4 separate regions of the Homo sapiens genome follow, and regions 2, 3 and 4 are each linked to region 1. The links are contacts of gene promoters, found by promoter capture Hi-C in blood cells and fetal thymus (Javierre and others, 2016). All regions are on one chromosome and are shown on one strand. The core of a region is centred on a gene start or on the middle of the fragment in contact, and the rest is flanking DNA. Distances in the headings are between cores, read along the strand shown.

Region 1 (4,758 bases), core at 934-3,433:
AAATCAGATGACATATTGGCAATCTCTCTATGGTTGTAGAACCAAAGTGCTACTAACTACAGTTGAGGGTTAAATCATCCTGTTGCACCAGAGAAGAGCATGGAGGAGTCAATAAAATCTGAGAAGAGTCTCTCACCCCTCCTCAATGCCTCCCCTCTGGCCAGGTCTGGTCTCCCAAGCAGCTCTTAGATGCACCACTTCTGCCTGTGAGCCTCGGCTCATGCTGAGCCTTCTTCCAGGAATTTCCTTCCTCCTCCTAATTCCTAATCCTTCCCCAAGATCCAGTCAAGGTCTCCACCTCCTCCAGGAAGCCTTAGGTGACTACACCATCTCACATGAGCTTTCCCTTCTCCAAGCGCCTCATCATGTCACTCTACTACTCTTTCCACTTCTCGAAGTCCTCCTGTCTCCCGCCACGAGCATGTGCCGAACATGGAGAATATGAGCCCTGGAGGCCCAGATTTGTCTCAATACAGTTTCAGGCACCCCACTATGCCTGGGGTCATTAATCATTCTCCCTTCCCTCTTCTCCAGCTGGCAAACTCCTATTTATCCTTTAAAGCCACAGGTCCACTGTCCCCAACCCTAAAAACCCTGTCTGACTCTCCTGGGGAAGAGCTGCACACGCATCCCGTGCTACCACTGCAGCCGCTCATAATTCACCCACAAGAATGTACCAGGCGTCAACTTAATGGCAGGCACCAGGGGCACACATTAGTGAAACAGAACCCTGCCCTACCCCAAGGAACCTACATGCTACCCTGTTAGGCAACACCAAACAAAGTCACAATTATTTGATTGAAAGCTGCCAAGATGCACTGCCAGCTTGCTATGTTGCAAAGACGTTCTACATACTGAGACATTCAATCCTCACACAGGTGCTGTGGGTGCCAGCATTACCTTCTTGAGCCCTCTGTGTGCTGATATCGTCCTGGCTCACTCCGTCCCTGCGGATCTGTGATCTCTGGGGGGTGGGAGGAACCAAAAATGATAGCCTCCTCCACCCCATTCTCTCTCCTAGTTCCCTTCCTGCTTTATTGCTTCCTCAGCACTTGCAATCTGCACATACTAATAAATGAGATCTCTCTCATTTATTCTTTGCTGCCCCCAGCCCCCCATTGAGTTCCCCAGGCAGAGATGTGAGGCCTGTATCCCCACAGCCTAGGACAGTACCTGGTAAACAGTGGCGACCCAGACATAGTTGTGTGAAGAAATGCATCCCTCTGTCTTTTGCAGATGAGATTGCTGGGGTTCAGAGACGTCAAGCAGCTTGCCTGAGAGAAGCCACGCAGCTAATGAGCAGCAGAGCCCGATTCACACCCAGACATCTGGCCCCAGGGCATGTGTTTCTTGCCACTCACTGCCTCATGCCTTCTCTTTGTACTGCCATCGTTTGTCACCCAACTGCCTCTGCACCTCGGCCACGCCACCCTTGAGGATGGGGGCTGGTACCTCCTTTATCTTGTATCCACAGGACCCCACAGAGTGCCTTCCCCAGAGCGGTTTCTGCTAAATTCTGTTTAACAGAGTGTATTCATTCTGTTTGCTGAATGAATAAACAACCACATGAATGCATAAGTGTATTTCACAAACATTTGGTACTGATCAGGGAGACGGAATGCTCCGTTTAAATCCTGGGGTTCCGAAATGAGATGCTGTCTTTCAGGAGCAAGCATACTTTTGTAACAAGGCAAAAGTAAGGCACGATTCTTTGGCACATTTGTGATGTGTCTTTTGCCTCTTGATTCACAGATAAGGGTCCTTTTTTGGGGGTGAGCCCCATCTGCCCACCACACAACTCAGACACACACGGATAGGAAGACGCCTGCCTTGCCACGTTTTGGGGGAGCACTTACAGGAGAAGGCAGTGTCTAGGGATCGCCTCTCCTCAAGGCTGACTCCCACCCACACAGGCTGCCCCAGCCTCCCCATCCCAGGCACTTACACGGGATTTCTCGGCCAGCCTCGCAGGCAATGCCCGTTTCCAGATATTCTTGGCAGAGCCGGCGTGGAGGAGAAGTAGCAAGAGGCACAGAGCCCGGATGATCTGCCTCCTGCAGCTGCCCGGCCCCACGCCGGTTAAAGGCATTTCCTCCCTGGGCAGCGACCTTCCAGACGCACACAGAAGAGGGGCCCCCCTCGCTGCGTGGGCCTGTGAGTGGGGACAGGAGCGTGCACAGTCTGCTGGACTTTCTTAGTTCCACCCAGCAGGGTCCCTCGGATCATGTGTCCGCGTCCAGCACATGCCCCTTCCTCGATGGTGGCTGGCCTGCCCGGTTATTTTTAGCTTGCCCTATAACATCTGGCCCCAGACGCTCCAACCAGGGCGTCTGCAGCCCAGGCAGCTCAGTGGGCGGTGGCAGCAGGAGGAGGGGGCACCGGCTTGCTTGGAGACGTGGCCGGGAGTGGCCTGTCACTCTCCACTCTCCATAATGAGCACTTCCTTGCAGGCTGGGGCGGTCTCCTCCCAAGGAGGTGTGCTTGACACAGGGCTCGGGGCTGGACATGCAGGGGAGTGCAGCCGGATGGGTGGGGGCTCGGCTGCTACCTTGTTCACATTTCGAGCTGGGCTGACAAACTATCTGCCTATAAAAGCTTCTTTGAAAGAGGCTGCTGGACTGGCACTGGCCAAGGGTGCAGCCATGAAGAGACGACTTCCACCCTTGCACCCGCCGGGGTCCTCCTGCCTGATGTGGGCATGTGGGTAGTTCCTCATAGCGTGTGTTTCCTGTGAGATTTAAAAGAAATTGAGCACATAAAGCATTTCACACACATAAGTGTGCTGTCACTGTCAGCCGGTGTATCTGCACATGTGCATTTATGTGTATGCGTGTGTGCACGTGGGTGTGCATGTGCACGTGTGTGTTTTACAGGAATGTAGCACAGCGGGCTCAACATTTCACAAACTTCATATTCCCTTGTCTGTTCTCAGCACTTCCAAGACAGATACTGGTTTTTTGTTTTGTTTTGTTTTTCGAGACGGGTCTTGCTCTGTCACCCACGCTGGAGTGCAGTGGTGTGATCACAGATCACTACAACCTCTGCCTCCCGGGTTCAAGCGATTCTCCTGTCTCGGCCTTCCAAGTAGCTGGGATAACAGGCATGTGCCACCATGCCTGGCTAATTTTTGTATTTTTAGTGGAGACTGGGTTTCACCATGCTGGCCAGGCTGGTCTCAAACTCCTGACCTTAAGTGATCTGCCCGCCTCAGCCTCCCAAAGTGCTGGTATTACAGGTGTGTGAGCCACCACACCCGGCCCCAAAACAGACACTGTTTTGATGCCCGCTTTACAGATGAGGAAACAGAGGGGGCTGCCTGAGGTCATGCAACAGCAGCAGAGAGGAGGCTGGAACCCAGGTAGGTCAGACCCTGTGGCACCCCCCTAGGCGAAGCAGAAGGGACCCAAGCACTAGGCTTGACGCACCTGCCTGATCCCAGTTCAGCCTCTGCGAGATGCTGGAAAGCCTCTTGCTCATGGTCCTCAGTTCTCTCATCTGTGAAATGGGCATGTGAAAGTCTCTGCCTCTTGAGATCGATGTGGGGCTACAGGAGAGGGTGCCAGCTGTGCCCAGCACTTGCACAGAGTGAGTGCTCCAGAAAGATTGGTTCCTCCCTCCCTGGGGACCCTCACCCCCCACCTCCTGGCCAGCACAGCCTTCAGAATGCCCTGGGCAGGTATCATCAACCCCTCTTGGCCTTTTAGTGAATGACAATAGTGGCAAACACATATAGTCTGTGTAGGTCGGGTACGGTGGCTCACACTTGTAATCCTAGCACTTAGGGAGGCAGAGGATGCCTTGAGCCCAGGAGTTCAAGACCAGTCTGGGCAACATAGTGAGACCTCATCTCTACAAAAAATACAAAATAAAAAAAGTAGCCCGGCGTGCTGATGCACACCTGTAGTCCCAGCTAATTGGGAGACTGAGATGGGAGGATCACCTAAGCGTGGGAGGTTGAGGCTGCAGTGAGCTGTGATGGCGCCACTGTACTCCAGCCTGGGTCACAGAGCAAGACCCTGTATCAAAAAAAAAAAACCTTAAAAGCCATACAGTCTGTGTGTTCGGCAATGTTTGAAGCACTTCCTGCATTTTAATGCTTTTAGGTCTCATATTAGCCTTATAAGCAGGTGCTGTCTAGGATCCCATGCACAGAGAGGTTAAGACACTTGCCCAGTGAGCAATGCAAAATTTAAGTTCACCATCAGAGTCCTGTAAACCCAGGAGCCCAAGCGTGAGAGTCTTTTTACATTTTAGACCCTAGATGCCTCCTTTGCCTCCCGCTAGGCCCAGCCCTGATCATTACCTTGCCCTAGATTCTAGAATATTCCTTCATTTCTTCATCCAGAAACTACTGGCTGAGCCCTTATGGGGGCATGGTCCAGCGTGCTCCACTCCCTCTTCTTTCAGCTTTATGGGACGCAGTCTCAATGCCCCTCCCTGCAGGGCAAGGCTGCTTATTTAGAAGCCAGGAGCCACCCACGGACATGATGGAGCTGCTACCCCTACTTACCAGGACGACCTGGAACAGGTCCTGCCCCATCTCTCTGCCTCTGTTTTCTCATCTGTAAAACAGGGGTATGGAGTCAGAACTTACTCGCAGGTTTGCCATGAGGCCCAGCTGCACTTAGGCGAGGATCTAGGCTCAGCACATGCTTGCTGTTAGGAGATGAGCGTTCTGAGGCACCGCCTCCTGGGCCTCCTCCACCCGCACCCTGTTCTCCAGGCAGAGCGGAACCTTGGCCCAGGTTCCATTTGAGA
Region 2 (4,758 bases), core at 1,395-3,894, 190 kb before region 1:
AAATAAAGCCCCTCAAGGCAGTCAAAATGTTTTTTTCCTTTTGGTGGCCTTGCTCTTTCCTTCTTTTTTTTTTTTTTCCCCCAGCTATGGGAATTTAGCCAATTCAGAGGCCTTGTTTCCCTATAATTTGGAACGTTCCCTCGGATTTGACCAAGTCAGGTAGAGTTGATCAAACCAAGTGGGAAAAAGACTGAAACAATAAAAACAGAAGCCACAAATAAAAACAGTTCAGCAAAACAAACACACGCTCACACAGTTTGTACAATTACTGAGTGCTCTAATGGTAAGGAGAAGACCATTGGTAAATGAAGACCAGTTGGTTGTTTAAGTTTTAGTCATCAGGAGAATTTTTAAGACAAAACCCCAATTCATCTACTTTCCTAGGAGTGGGGCCCAGGCTGCAGACTGCCCTCTGCCATCTTAGAAGCAGGAAAACCTCCAATTCCCCTTCCCTGTTGGAAGCGAGCTGCAACTCCAGAAAGCAGTTGCTTGCCCTCTATCATTATGGAAACAGGAAGACTTGCCTTCCTTTTTGGAAGCAAGTAAAACTCAGCAAAATAAACCTTAGATCTCAACCAAATTTGGGGAGATCAGGGATTTTCTGGAGGGGGTAGCTCCTGGGCCTCAGCAAATCATCCTGTTGGTTTGAGCAATGAAGACAGCAGGCATTGTGGAGCTGTCCATCCTCGGGGAGTCCTAAACCCCAATACTGTTGGGATGAGGTCAGAACTCCTGGACAAAGGCTTTGGGAAAAGTTCTAGGCCAGCCAAGTGCATCATTAGAAAAACGAGTAACTACATACATTGCATGACCTTTCCCCACATTGTGGCCCATCATAGTTGGTGTTAAAGAAAATTGCCCTTCTCCATGTGGGCATGACATAGGTCTCAGGATATGGTGGAACTGTTTTTAATGGTAAAATTGTGATCTTACAGTTTACAGAGGATCTGGTTGGCTCTGTGGTGCACGTGCTAAGCCACAGACAGGAGCTGAGAGGCTGGACTGGGAAGGAAGCCCCAGGGCCCAACCCCCGGGTGCAGGTGCTGGCTGCTCAGCTGCTCTCTGACATGAAGCTGCAAGGCAAGTGTGCGTGGACGCGGTGATGCAGGTCTTTTGCTGTAGAGCGGTACCTGCTGTCTCCATTACTGTAGCTGTGTAGTAAAGCTTTGAAACCAGAATGCGTGAGCCCTCGAACCTTCTTCTAGGTTTTCTAGTTTGTTGGCATATTTTAAAATAATCCTTATTTTCCCAAAAGCAATAGGGATGTCCCCACTTCCATTACTGATTTAAATAATTTGTCTCTTGTCCCTTTTTCCTCTTAGTCTAGCTAAAGGGTTTTCACATTTTTGTCGGTACTTTTTGAAGAACCAGCTTTTAGTTTCATTAATTTTCTGTTGTCTTTCTAGTTTCTATTTATTTTCCTCTAGCTTTTATTTTCTTCCTTCTGTTTGCTTTAAATTTGTTTGGTCTTCTTTTCCTAGTTTCTTAAGATAGAATACTAGGTTATTGATTCGAGATCTTCTTTTTCAAATAAGCATTTACACTTGCACATTTCCCTTTCAGCACTGCCTTCGCTGCATGCCATAAGTTTTGATAGGTTATGTTTTTATTTTCATTGATCTCAATATTTTCTAATGTCCCTTAGGATTTTTTCATTTGGCCTACTGGCTATGTAACAGTGTGTTATTTAATTTCTCCATGCCTGTGAATTCCTCAAATTGCCTTTTAGTACTGATTTTTGATTATATTTCATTATGTTTAGAGAAGATACTTTGTATTATTTGAATCCTTTAAAATTTGTTGATGCATCATTTATGGCCTATAGTATGGTCACTTCTGGATAATGTTTAAAGCACATTTGAGAAGAATGTGTATTCTGTTGTTGGGTGAGAAGCAGTATATATTTAAATTTAATTGGGATTAAAAAAAAAAACCTTGTGGCAAATCACTTTGCAAAGCAGACTTACTTTATAAATATGTTGCCCTTTTGTTTTAAAGCCAGATTTTAAAGTACAGCTTGAAAATAGGTTATATTTCAGAAGTTAGTTTAGATGAGGTATTTGGAACTTGGAAAGAATTTTACAAGTAAGTATCAGTAATTCGTCTTATGGGTAAACTGTTCATCCATCTAGAATCAGTATGTTTTAAAAGAAGAATCATGAAAATAAAAATTAAAGTTTTCAGTGAAGTAGAAAAGGTAATTCAGACGATTAAAATTATCCTTAAGATTTCAAGTAATATATAGGTAATGAGAAATGAAACTGTTTGAAAAATAAATAGAAATGATAGGAATTTTGAATTATCAGAAGTTGGGAGTACTTTTACATTTCCTGCTTAATAAAATGGGCCTGAGTTACACAAAATATTTCAGCTTAGTCAAATTTTCGCTAGGTTGGGAATTATAATCTCTGTAAATGGGGCCTTTGTGTCAGCAAGAGCTTAAGACGTAAAAGCTCCTCTGTTCCTTGTAATAACCGAGCGGGGCAGGTTCTGGCCTTACCTCCATTTTATACCTGAGGAAACTGAGGCACAGAGGTCCAGACCTTGGCAAGGTCATGCTGTTCCTGAGCTCGGGTTTGAAGCCAGCTGTTCGAGTCCCAGGTGTGTGCTCCCACGCTCTTACTGTCACCTCCACTCTTAGTGGGTGAGGGATGGAAAATAGGGCTCCAAGTGCTGTATGATTAAGCCTGATTAGTGGCGAATGAAACCCGCACTTCCCAGATAAACTGCAGGAGTCCCAGGAAGTGCCCTACCAGCCCCTTGACTGGCTGGGAACATTCCCCTTCCAGTGACCTTGGCAGGACCGACGCCCTTGGATGAGCGGCTCCAGGTGTAGCTCAGGCATTTATTCCAGCCCCATTGCCAGGGCACTGCCATCTCGAGGGGTTCTGAAATGCTGCTTGGAGAGGAGAGAAAAGTGTTGAAGTCGGATTGTTTAGATCAGTGCTGGCCAATAGACAAAGCAAGCCCCATGTGAAATTTTCCCTTTTCTAGGGACCATGTTAAAAGAGTAAAGAGAAACAGGGGAAAACTGATTCTAATAATATGTCCTAAATACAATTTTGAAATGTAATGAATATTTAAAAATTGAGATATTTTACATTCTTTTTTCATACCAAATCTTTGAAATCAAGTGTGCCTTTTACACTGACGGCACCTCTCAATTCACACGAGCCCTGTTTTCTGTGCTCAGTAATTGCATGTGACTCGTGGCTCCCACACTGATCAGTGTGGGTTTAGATAGTAGCTAAATGGTGACATAACAGCCCCACTAATGCTGACCATCCCCTTCCCCTAGATGGCAAGAGACTTCTGGGGCCCCAGTGGCTGGACTATGACTGTGACCGAGCTGTGATCGAGGACTGGGTGTTCAGGGTCCCCCATGTGGCCATATTCCTGAGTGTGGTCATTTGCAAGGGCTTTCTCATCCTGTGCTCGTCTCTTGATCTGACTACCCTGGTCCCTGAGCGTCAAGTGGACCAGGGCAGGGGTTTTGAGAGCATCCTGGATGTCCTCTCTGTCATGTACATCAACGCCCAGCTGCCTCGGGAGCAGCGGCACCGCTGGTGCCTGCTCTTTTCGTCTGAGCTCCATGGACACAGCTTCTCCCAGCTCTGTGGCCACATCACTCACCGGGGACCCTGTGTGGCTGTCCTCGAGGACCATGACAAGCATGTGTTCGGTGGGTTTGCCTCTTGCTCTTGGGAGGTGAAGCCTCAGTTTCAAGGTAAGACTTGGTGTCCTGAACCTTGACGAGTGGCACAGCACGGGCAAAGAGCTCTGGAGAAAGGGAGAGGGTGGGGGTGCTAAATAGGGCTCTCCCATCTTCTCCAAGTGTTTCTCTAGACGCAGTCGGGGCGATAGGAAAATGTGATGCTGCTCTATGGTGTTTATCACATCAGAGTTCTTCAGGACAGGCCGTGTGACCCCCAGTTTTCAGGCGAGGACACGGGCCCAGTTATTACACGGTGCCGGGTCTATGGGGCGTGGGAGAAGTCAAGCCACAGATGCCTCCGAGGGGACCAGGAGATGGTAATTGGTTCAGATCGGACATTTTCCTTCCCTGGGCCTTCCTGCCCCTGCCCCCACCGCCACGCGTTTGCTTGTTGGAATTTGGAAGCTTTGTGCATGACCTTGAATGCACTGGATGAAAGGTTCTAAGTAAATTCTTTTCCTTCCCTCAAGGAAGAATACTCTGATGAAAAGAGTCCTTTAAAAATATTTAAAACACAGGCCAGGTGCAGTGGCTCACACCTGGAATCCCAGCATTTTGGGAGGCTGAGGCAGGAGGATCACTTGAACCCAGGAGTTTGAGACCAGCATGGGCAACATAGTGAGACCTTGCCTCTATCTTAAAAAAAAAAAAAAAATAATAAGGCTGGGCGTGGTGGCTCAAGCCTGTAATCCCAGCACTTTGGGAGTCCGAGGCAGGTGGATCACTTGAGGTCAGGCATTTGAGACCAGCCTGGTGAACGTGGTGAAACCACGTCTCTACTGAAAGTACACAAATTAGATGGGTGTGGTGGCGCATGCCTGTAATCCCAGCTACGTGGGAGGCTGAGGCATGAGAATTGCTTGAACCTCGGAAGCAGAGTTGCAGTGAGCCGAGATCATACCACCGCACTCCAGCCTGAGCAACAGAGCGAGACTCCATCTCTAGATAGATAGATAGATAGATAGATAGGTAGATAGATGGATGGATGGATGGATGGATGGATAGATAGATAGTTTTTGAAATGTTTACAGATGCGTCGCCCA
Region 3 (4,758 bases), core at 788-3,287, 180 kb before region 1:
TCCCCAGTCATCTAGACTGTGTGTTCCAGCATAGGGTGTGTGTATTAGTCCGTTCTCATATGCTGCTAATAAAGACATATCTGAGCCTGGATAATTTCTAAAGGAAAGACGTTTAATTGGCTCACAGTTCAGCATGGCTAGGGAGGCCTCAGGAAACTTACAATCATGGCGGAAGGGGAAGCAAACATGTCCTTCTTCACATGATGGTAGGAAGGAGAAGTGCAGAGCAAAGCAGGAGCAAAGCCCCTTATAAAACCATCAGATCGTGTCAGAACTCACTATCATGAAAACAGCATGGAGGTAACTACCCCCATGATTCAATTACCTCCCCCACCCGGCTCCCTCCCATGACACGTGGAGATTATGGGAAGTACAAGATGAGATTTGGGTGGGGTCACAGCCAAGCCATATCAGCATGTGCGGCAAAGCCAGGCTGGGCGGGCTTGTCTGAGGTCCCTCCATGGCATACGCAGGCATTTTCTGTGGTAGCTGGGGAGGGGGCAGTCCCCAGGCCTCTGGTGGAATGCTTGGGTGGGAGGTAACAGCAGTTGTGCTGTGACCTTGCCACTGGGGAGGGTGAGGCTGCTTTCAGTGGCAGCAGCCCATGCCAGTGAGTGGGAACACGCACCCCACTTGCACCTTGGCAGTGGCAGCCCGCACTTTGCTGTGCCTCTGCCCTGGTGCTGCTGAGCCCCAGGCTGGTGTGCAGTCTCTTGTGGGCTGGGCTCCCATATGGTGTCTTGCTCAAAACTGTACTGTTTAAATTTTTCTACCAAGTGACAGTGAACAGCCTCATTTTTCAAAAGCTTTCTGTATCATATCTTTTTCTTGGTTTTCTAGGGTGTCGGTCTTTTTCTTATCGATTTGTAACAGTGCTTTTAAAAAATAAAATAGAAATGAGGTCTCAATATGTTGCCCAAGCTGGTCTTGAACTCCTGAACTCAAGGGATCCTCCTGCCTCAGCCTCCGAAAGTGCTGGGATTACAGGTGCAAGCCACCACACCCGGCCAACAGTGCTTTTTATGAATGAAGTAGCATTTCCCATGTATGGTCAATGTTTTCTACGGTTTATTTGACTTCGTTTGTGGCGTTTTTCTGCCCATAAATTTTACAGTTTCTGTCATATTTCCCAGCATTTCTGCTTAAGGGTCTTTGGATTTGCCGTTTGTTTAGGCAGTCTGTCTCTACTCTGAGTATTAAAAATCATTTTCTTCTACTGTGGTTTCTGTTTTTACCTCTTAAATCTTTTATCTATTCAAAAGGCTTTTATATATATATATGTGTGTGTGTGTGTATATATATATATTTTTATGTGTGTGTATATATATAAATTATATATGTGTGTGTGTGTATGCATATATATATATATATATATATTTTTTTTTTACTTTTTGAGATGGAGTCTCACTCTGTCACCCAGGTGGAGTGCAGTGGTGTGATCTCAGCTGACTGCAACCTCCGCCTCCTAGGTTCAAGACATTAGCCTGCCTCAGCCTCCCGAGTAGCTGGGATTACAGGTGCTTGCCATCACACCTGGCTAATTTTTGTATTTTTAGTAGAGATGGGGTTTCACCATGTTGGCCAGGCTGGTCTCGAACTCCTGACCTCAGGTGATCCTCCCATTTTAGCCTCCCAAAGTGCTGGGATTACAGGCATGAGCCACCGTGCCTGGCCTTCAAAAGGCATTTAAACATATAGTCCTATCTTAGCCCAAAATAAAGTCCCATTACCTTGTATATTAAGTGGTTTGTCTTTTCCCATTGACTTCTAATGATACTTTGTCATCAGCTGAGTTTCTGTATGAATTGAGGTCTCTCTCATGTTTTAATTGCTGGAATTTGGTGATAAAAATATGTAAGAGCCGTTTTTCTCTTACTACTGTTTTTTGGAATTTTTCGGCAAATGCTTGGCTGCTTATTTTCTCCGACCTTTGCACTGTGACCACTTCTAAAAAATAGGATAGTACTTTCCAAATGGTTCTGCCTATGTTAATGTATATTTAATGCTGACATTTGGCTAACGTTGATGCTTCTATCCAAGAACAGGGACATCTAGCTTCTTAGGTAAATTTTTATTGTCATTTCTGGGACTGTCAGTGGACATTTTTTCCTAAGTGATGGTTATTTTAACATAGGAAGCTCTTGATTTTTGTAGTTTTTATTCCCAGTTACCTTACTGAATTCTTTTTTTTTTTTTTTTCTTTTTGAGATGGAATCTTGCTCTGTCATCCAGGCTGGAGTGCAGTAGCGTGATCTTGGCTCACTGCAATCTCCGCGTCCTGGGTTCAAGCAGTTCTCCTGCCTCAGCCTTCCGAGTGGCTGGGACTACAGGTGTGCAACCACCATGCCTGGCTGATGTTTTGTATTTTAGTAGAGATGAGGTTTCACCATGTTGGCCAGGATGGTCTCAATCTCCTGACCTTGTGATCTACCCACCTCAACCTCCCAAAGTGCCAGGATTACAGGCGTGAGACACCGTGCCGGTTTTTTTTTTTGTTTGTTTTTTTTTTTTGAGACAGGGTCTTGCTCTATTATCCAGGCTGGAATGCAGTGACATGACCTCAACTCATTTCAGCCTCTGCCTCCAGAGTCAAGCAATCCTCCCACCTCAGCCTCCCGAGTAGCTGGGACTACAGATGCACACCACCACTCCCAGCTAAATTTCGTGTTTTTTGTAGAGGTGGTTTCGCCATGTTGCCCAGGTTGGTCTCAAACCCCTGAGCTCAAGCAATCCACCCACCACAGCCTCCCAAAGTGCTGGGATTCCAGGCATGAACCACCGTTCCAGGCCTCTTACTGACCTCTTTTATCCAGTAGTTCTCCCCGCTTGAGCATGCATCAGATTTGCCTAGAGAGCTTCTTAAAATGCATATTGCAGGTCTGCATTCCTGCTTCTGATGATGTAGGTGAGGATGGGATTAACTCTTGACAACCTTATCCATTTCTTTTACCATTGGATTGTTTTAAATCTCTGCTGGAAGTCTTCAAATTACTTTATGTAATATTGACCCCAAAGTATTGAAACTCTTTTGTAGTTATGTTTTTTTTCCTTTTCTTGTGTTTTCATTTTCCTAGATTGGATTCAGTTACTAATTTTGCTTTTATATTATTCCTGCTTTTCTTCAGTTTTTTTTTTTCAGTTTTTTGAGTTATTTTACTAAATAAAAAATAATGGAAGTAGATGAATACATAAAGCTATTACTTTTTTCTTGGGCCCTGAGTTATTTTGCAGTATTGTATAGATAGGTGTGTGTTGATCATAAGCTTCTAGATTTTCTGTGGCCTTCATTTTGATTTTCTCTTGTACCCAAGAGTTTTTAAATTTTGCTGTGCTAGAGAATTTCCCCTAGTCCTGTCACTCGTCTTTAAATTAGATTGCATAGTGATTAGAGATGTCATCTGTATTATTATTTTTTTAAGACAGAGCCTCACTTCATTGCCCAGGCTGGAGTGCCATGGTGTGATCTCAGCTCACTGCTACCTCTGCCTCCCAGGTTCAAGCGATTCTCCTGCCTCAGCCTCCCGAGTAGCCTGGGATTACAGGCGCCCACCACCATGCCCAGCTAATTTTTGTATTTTTAGTAGAGATGGGGTTTCGCTATGTTGCCCAGGCTGGTCTCAAACTCCTTACCTCAAGTGATCCAACCGCCTCGGCCTCCCAAAGTTCTGGGATTACAGGTCTGAGCCACCATGCCCGACCAAGAAGTCATCTATATTAGATCTACTCTTTGGAATCACTGAGGTTTTGTGTCCTTTCATGTGGTAAGTTAATATAATGAATTTTCTGTATCCTTTGCCTGAATTTCCCATACTGTTTCCTCTTTAAATTTGAATGTTGTGTTGGTACATAGTCTGGCCTATGGATTTTTCAGTGGTGATTATATCTTGTTAAATTTCCTTCTTGGTCTCCTTTAATGCTTTTGGCCTTTCTTTTAATCTTGTCTGATTAGACTGTGTCACCTTGGTCTTGTGTGTTGTTTGTCTTTACCTGGTGTATTTTTGCCCTATGAGTATATCTTATCTTCTTACACACTTTGAAATAATTTTAGATTCATATAGACTTCCAAAAATTGTACAGGAGTTTCTGTCACTCCATGAGTGAGTGGATAAAGAAATTGTGGTACATCCATGCAGTGGAATACTAGTCAGCCATGAAGAAGAACACACATAAAACAACTTGAAGGGACCTTACAGGTATTATGCTTAGTGACAAAAGCCAGTCTTAAAAGGTTCTATACCATGATTCCATTTATGTAACAGTATTGAAGGAACAACATTATGGTGATGAAGAAGGGATTAGAGGTTGCTGGGATTAGGAGGGTGTTACTATAAAAAGTAAGGAGGAGTTTTTCAGGGGCGATGGAAGTTTTGCCTCCTCATTGTAGCAGTGGTTACCTGAATTGATGTGTGTCATACAATTTCATAGAACTTGTGTTGTGGGGGGCAGGAAACCACTCTCAGACCCAGTGATTGGCTAGAAAGACTCAGGACTCAGAAACTGTTGAGCTCAGAGGGAGAGGGTGACCAGTCTCTGCAGTTGCAGCCCTGGGGCTGTTCTAATCTGTATCTTTTCCTGGTAATAGACATGGCTGTGAGCATGACAGGTGTCAGTGAGCTCTGTGTGCCTCATCAACGAATCATCCAACCTGAAGGTGGTTGTGGGAAACTCTTGGACCTGCAGTCAGTATCAGAAGGCCTGGGCAGACTTGGCCAGCCACCTGGAGCACTGTGCCCTTAAACTCAGGTTTGCCTAACATCA
Region 4 (4,758 bases), core at 83-2,582, 150 kb before region 1:
CATCAGGTTCCAAGCACACATTATTGCCGTCAGCATGCTGCCTGACTCCTTGGGACGGGTGACCTCCTTGACTAGGGACCCTGCTTGAATGCACTTAAAAGTCAATGTTACATGCAAGCTTAAAGCTCTGGGCCGGGACCACAGGCACTGACCCCGCAAACCGAGCGACCCCATCCTCTTCTCTTCCTGCAGGCAGAATGACCTCTGCTGGGGCGTCAGCGGCAGGGGGATGCCCCCGTTGTTGTACATGGTGCAGTAGCGGATCACCTCTTCCAAGGCCCCTTTCATGAAGTAAATGTCTTCCTGATCCTTAGAAAAGACAAAGGGAAGAAATCCACTATCACTGGAAGCCTTGGTTCATACTGACCATCACCCCACTCTGCACAAGGTTACAAAGACACACACGGGGATCTTTGCAGCGGAGTTATTTATCATAGGCTGGTGCTGTTCACAGGTGCTGGACAGGTTCGCGAAGTTCTAGAATCCATCCATGGAACGTTTTGCAGTCCAGAGAAAGAACAAGGCCAATCTTCAACCTGTACTACCCTTGTTCTTTTTTCAGTTCCCTTGTTATGGTCACTCAGAGCGTCTTGTATGTTTCATGCACGGGAGGTATCATCCCAGCTGGGACTGTGCCTTTGGGGGTGTGATTAACTGGGAATATTTCCATTAGACTGTTGCCTCCCTAGGGCAGCACCAAGTCTATTTTGTACCCACCCCCAGCACTTGGCTTGTAATAGTGAAGCCACATGAGTAGCTGATCATTTTTCCTGTGTTTTTCTTAAGCTCTGTCATGACAAACATGTAGACTATGAACTCCACGGGGGGAGGCCCTGGGTCAGTGAGAGTCACACTGTACCCCTAGCCTCAATACCGGACATACCTGGCTCACGTGGGTGCACAGTGTGAATGTAACACTGTTATAAGATAATATAATATTAATTATATATGTTATTAATATGTAATTAACATATTAATGTTATTAATAAATATAATATTAATTACAGATGTTAATACATTAATTATAGTACATATGTATTGTATATTATTTATATGTATTATATTACATTATATTATTTATATGTATATTATATATTATATATAACTAATATATTCTTATACAATTATAATATATATTACATAATATATATTAAATAATATATGTAATATATGTAATATATATTACATATTATATAATTAATATGTTAATATAACAAGCTTATATTAACCAACACAGACATCTAAGACATAATATTAAAAGAAAATCTTAGGGGGAAAAAGCAAATTACACACACTATAAATAGTGACCTTGTTTTGAAAATACCATCCAGATGTTGTCGTTTGCATATTTAAAATCTGCAATGCTCCATCCCAGACTTAAAATAGAATTACCTCTGGGTGGGTGGTGGGGAGGGAGGGAAGAAGGGTGGAATGAAAGAAGCTTTCATTTTTATGTCATATTTCTATACTTTTTCAATGAGAATATATTACCATTGCCTTGCAAGGGAAAAGATTTAAAGGTCTAAAAGTTTTTTGAAAATCTATAATCCCTTCTAAGCCCCTGAAATGTACATGTGTCCATCCATGCACAGGAAGGGCCTGGCATGAGCTGGCTGAGCTGCCCACAGCCCTGAGTGGGAGCTGAGCAGTCTGCGTGGGCAGACATGATAGATTCTAGAAAGAGTGGGAGGGAAGAGGAGGGGTGGAGAAAACGGTAGAAGGCAACAAAAACTTTAAAAAATAGCTTTTAAGGAAAATCTGAAAAGCCACAACAAATCTGAAAAGAAAATTTTAAAAATCAGCTGTAATGTCCACCCGGGGTGGCCATAGCTTGGTATGTGTTCCTCTAGCCAGGGACAACACGTGTGCACACGCTGATGCACCACACAGACACGCCTTCCGTACTGAAGGATTTGCTCCCCAGTATGACGGGGAGATGAGCTAAGAAGTATAAAAAACTTAGCACAGGGCTGCAAAGAGAGGACTGGCAAGTTGGCGACTGGTGTTAGCAGCAGGGCCTCAGTCACTGGATTACAGGCTGGTCGATCTCAACATTTGCACCTGCATCAGAATCTGCAGAAAATGAAGGTTACTGGGTCCCACCCCTGGACCCTTCGACTCAGGAGGTCTGGCATGGAACCTGAGATTCTGCATTTCTAATAAAGTCTCGCGTGGTAACAACCGCTGCTACTCCAGGGACCCTGCTTTAAGAACTTCTGTTTTAAACAAAAAGCCAGAAGCAGACCCAAGAGAATCAAAGGTATGATGGTGATTAAGTTTTTCCATGTATTTGGAACGTCACAGAAGCAGCCAGGAACTTTCAAATTATCCTTGAAGTCTGCATTTTGCTTTATCTCTGGGTGGGGGCCCGGGCAGAAAGAGAGAAGAGGTTGAAGATTGAAAGGTCTCACCTCAGTCTTCAGACTGCATTTCACCGCCATCCACTTCTGCTCTGAACTGAATGGAATCTCTTTTTTTCTTATATATGAATTTTTAATATCACTTAAGTCCATCTAGCATAATAAAATGACACATTTTTAGTGAGTCATCCGAAGCCAATCTCTATACAAAGCTCAGTCCATTTAAATTATTCATTGTTCAAACCACCTCTGGCAGATAAGAAATCCAAGCATTTAGCACATAGAAAAAAGGCCATTTCTCTTGGAATGTCCCACCTAGAAAAAAAAAAAAAAGTCTCTTCTCTTGGCTGAAGGGCAGACAAGACGGTCTTTGCAACAGCTTCTATCTGAAATCTGCTTAGAAACAAACCTGCAGTGTTTCTGCCGGGAGGAATGTTTCAGACTTGAAGGTGTAGCAATTTCTCAGACGGAACCCCCTGAGTCAGTGAGACAGCCCTGCGTCCAGAACATGGGGTCCTTGCCAGCCCCCCGTCCACAGCCTGGGGTCCTTGCCAGCCTGGCCCTTTGTTGCTCTTTGGTGGCTTTTGGATCAGTGATGTGACAACTCAGAATCTCAGTTTCCCCAGGTGTAAACCAGTCATGACCCATGCATCCCACTGTCCCACAGGGGGTGAAAATGCGGTGCAGCAGGGGCACAAAAAACTACTCCTTTTACGTAGAAAGTGCAGATATGCGTACAATACAGTGTATCTACCATATTAAATTTCATGGGGAGGGAGTGGGGTGATTAGGGAAGAAATGCCTAAACCATCTCCTTAGTGGGGTTGAATTGTACCCCACAAAAGATATGTTGAAGTCCTAACCTCGGAACCTCTGAATGTGACCTGATTTGGAATAGCGCCTTTGCAGATATCGTCAATTTGAGGCTATTAGGGTTGGCCCTAAGCCAACATGACTGGATATAAGAGGAGGAAGGCCGGGCATGGTGGCTCATGCCTGTAATCCCAGGACTTTGGGCAGCCGAGGCGGGTGGATCACGGGGTGAGGAGATCAAGACCATCCTGACTAACATGGTGAAACCCTGTCTCTACTAAAAATACAAAAAGTTAGCCAGGCGTGGTGGCAGGCGCCTGTAGTCCCAGCTACTTGGGAGGCTGAGGCAGGAGAATCGCTTGAACCTGGGAGGCGGAGGTTGCAGTGAGCGGAGATCAAGCCAGTGCACTCCAGCCTGGGCAACAGAGCGAGACTCCGTCTCAAAAAAAAAAAAAAAAGAGGAAAACGCTGCGCAGAGGCGTGGCGGGGAGCACCTCGTGACAGAGACAGAGCTTGGTGTGAGAGACCAAGGCAGGGATGCGTCTGCGAGTCAAGGAACGCCCGGGGCTGCCAGTAACACCCAGAAACTGGGAGACGGAGCCTGGCCCTGCTCACACCTTGATTTCAACTTCTGGCCACAGAGCTGTGTTTCAGTGTGTTTTGGTTACACTAAATCACCAGCCAGTGGTGTTTTATTTCAGTAACCCCAAGACCCTAATCCAGGAGCAATAATGGAAGAAAAGCCCGGGAACCACTGGCCTGGCCTCAGTGCCATTTAGAGCAGGTGAGACAGGTAAGAACCACAAAGTGCTTGCCCCATGCCTGTCACACAGGCAGCACTTCCTACATGCCAGCCAGTGTTTGTTCTGTATTCCAAAATCTTAAGCCAGGCCCCAGGAAAAAGGAAAATTATAACACATCAAGGAAATCTCTTCTGGGTGCTGGAACCTCTCTCCTCTCTAGGCTGCAGGGACGGCTGGTGGCGGAAGCAAGGTGACACATGGGTGTCATTCCTGCCAGGCGGTCAGGCCGGCACCTTCCCTTCTGGGCGGCGAGGAGTTGTTGAATGGGGCAGACTCAGCACTATTTTAAAACGGGAAATGAGCTCCATTCACTATTACAGACATTGCAGAGAGAATTCTCTTCTGTGAATGGAAGAAAAATAATACGATGTCATGATTTCTGTTTGTTTTTTTGAGACGGAGTCTTGCTCTGTCACCCAGGCTGGAGTGCAATGGTACGATCTCGGCTCACTGTAACCTCCGCCTCCTGGGTTCAAGCAATTCTCCTGCCTCAGCCTCCCGAGTAGCTGGGATTACAGGTGTGCACCACCATGCCCAGCTAATTTTTATATTTTTAGTAGAGATGAGGTTTCACCATGTTGGCCAGGCTGGTCTTGAACTCCTGACCTCAGGTGATCCACCTGCCTCGGTCTCCCAAAGTGTTGCGATTACAGGTGTGAGCCACTGTGCCCAATCTTTTTGTTTTTTTTTTTTTTTTTTTTTTGAGGCAGGATCTCTCTCATCTAGACTGGAGTGCAGTGGTGTGATCATAGCTCATTGCAGCCTCAGACTCCTGGGCTCAA

What was found. Contacts are between HindIII fragments. The CHiCAGO score rates a contact against its expected background, and 5 or more counts as called.
Region 2: a contact is called between a fragment that was not itself captured here and the fragment with the promoter of WFDC1 in region 1, in 4 of 17 cell types (M1 macrophages, M2 macrophages, M0 macrophages and 1 more). The highest score is 9.0, in M1 macrophages.
Region 3: a contact is called between a fragment that was not itself captured here and the fragment with the promoter of WFDC1 in region 1, in 1 of 17 cell types (M1 macrophages). The highest score is 6.5, in M1 macrophages.
Region 4: a contact is called between a fragment that was not itself captured here and the fragment with the promoter of WFDC1 in region 1, in 5 of 17 cell types (M1 macrophages, M2 macrophages, M0 macrophages and 2 more). The highest score is 9.6, in M1 macrophages.

What each region holds. Positions count from the first base shown.
Region 1 is chr16:84,292,303-84,297,060 of GRCh38, reverse strand. WFDC1 (WAP four-disulfide core domain 1) reads right to left here and starts at 2,183. Exons shown (of 7, transcript NM_021197.4): 1 at 1,946-2,183. The coding sequence starts at 2,089. LOC124903734 reads right to left here. Exons shown (of 6, transcript XM_047435022.1): 4 at 4,511-4,562; 5 at 3,426-3,544; 6 at 2,223-2,728. The coding sequence ends at 2,223. The HindIII fragment of the contact is 4,383 bases long and covers 1-2,597 here.
Region 2 is chr16:84,485,600-84,490,357 of GRCh38, reverse strand. It overlaps MEAK7 (MTOR associated protein MEAK7), which reads left to right. Exons shown (of 8, transcript NM_020947.4): 4 at 936-1,080; 5 at 3,299-3,727. Among named protein-coding and RNA genes, the nearest start is that of MEAK7, 17 kb to the left of the region's middle. The HindIII fragment of the contact is 2,956 bases long and covers 1,167-4,122 here.
Region 3 is chr16:84,467,289-84,472,046 of GRCh38, reverse strand. ATP2C2-AS1 (ATP2C2 antisense RNA 1) reads left to right here and starts at 4,686. Exons shown (of 3, transcript NR_146503.1): 1 at 4,686-4,743. The HindIII fragment of the contact is 2,457 bases long and covers 809-3,265 here.
Region 4 is chr16:84,444,084-84,448,841 of GRCh38, reverse strand. It overlaps ATP2C2 (ATPase secretory pathway Ca2+ transporting 2), which reads right to left. Exons shown (of 27, transcript NM_014861.4): 16 at 2,412-2,513; 17 at 153-309. Among named protein-coding and RNA genes, the nearest start is that of ATP2C2-AS1, 21 kb to the left of the region's middle. The HindIII fragment of the contact is 223 bases long and covers 1,221-1,443 here.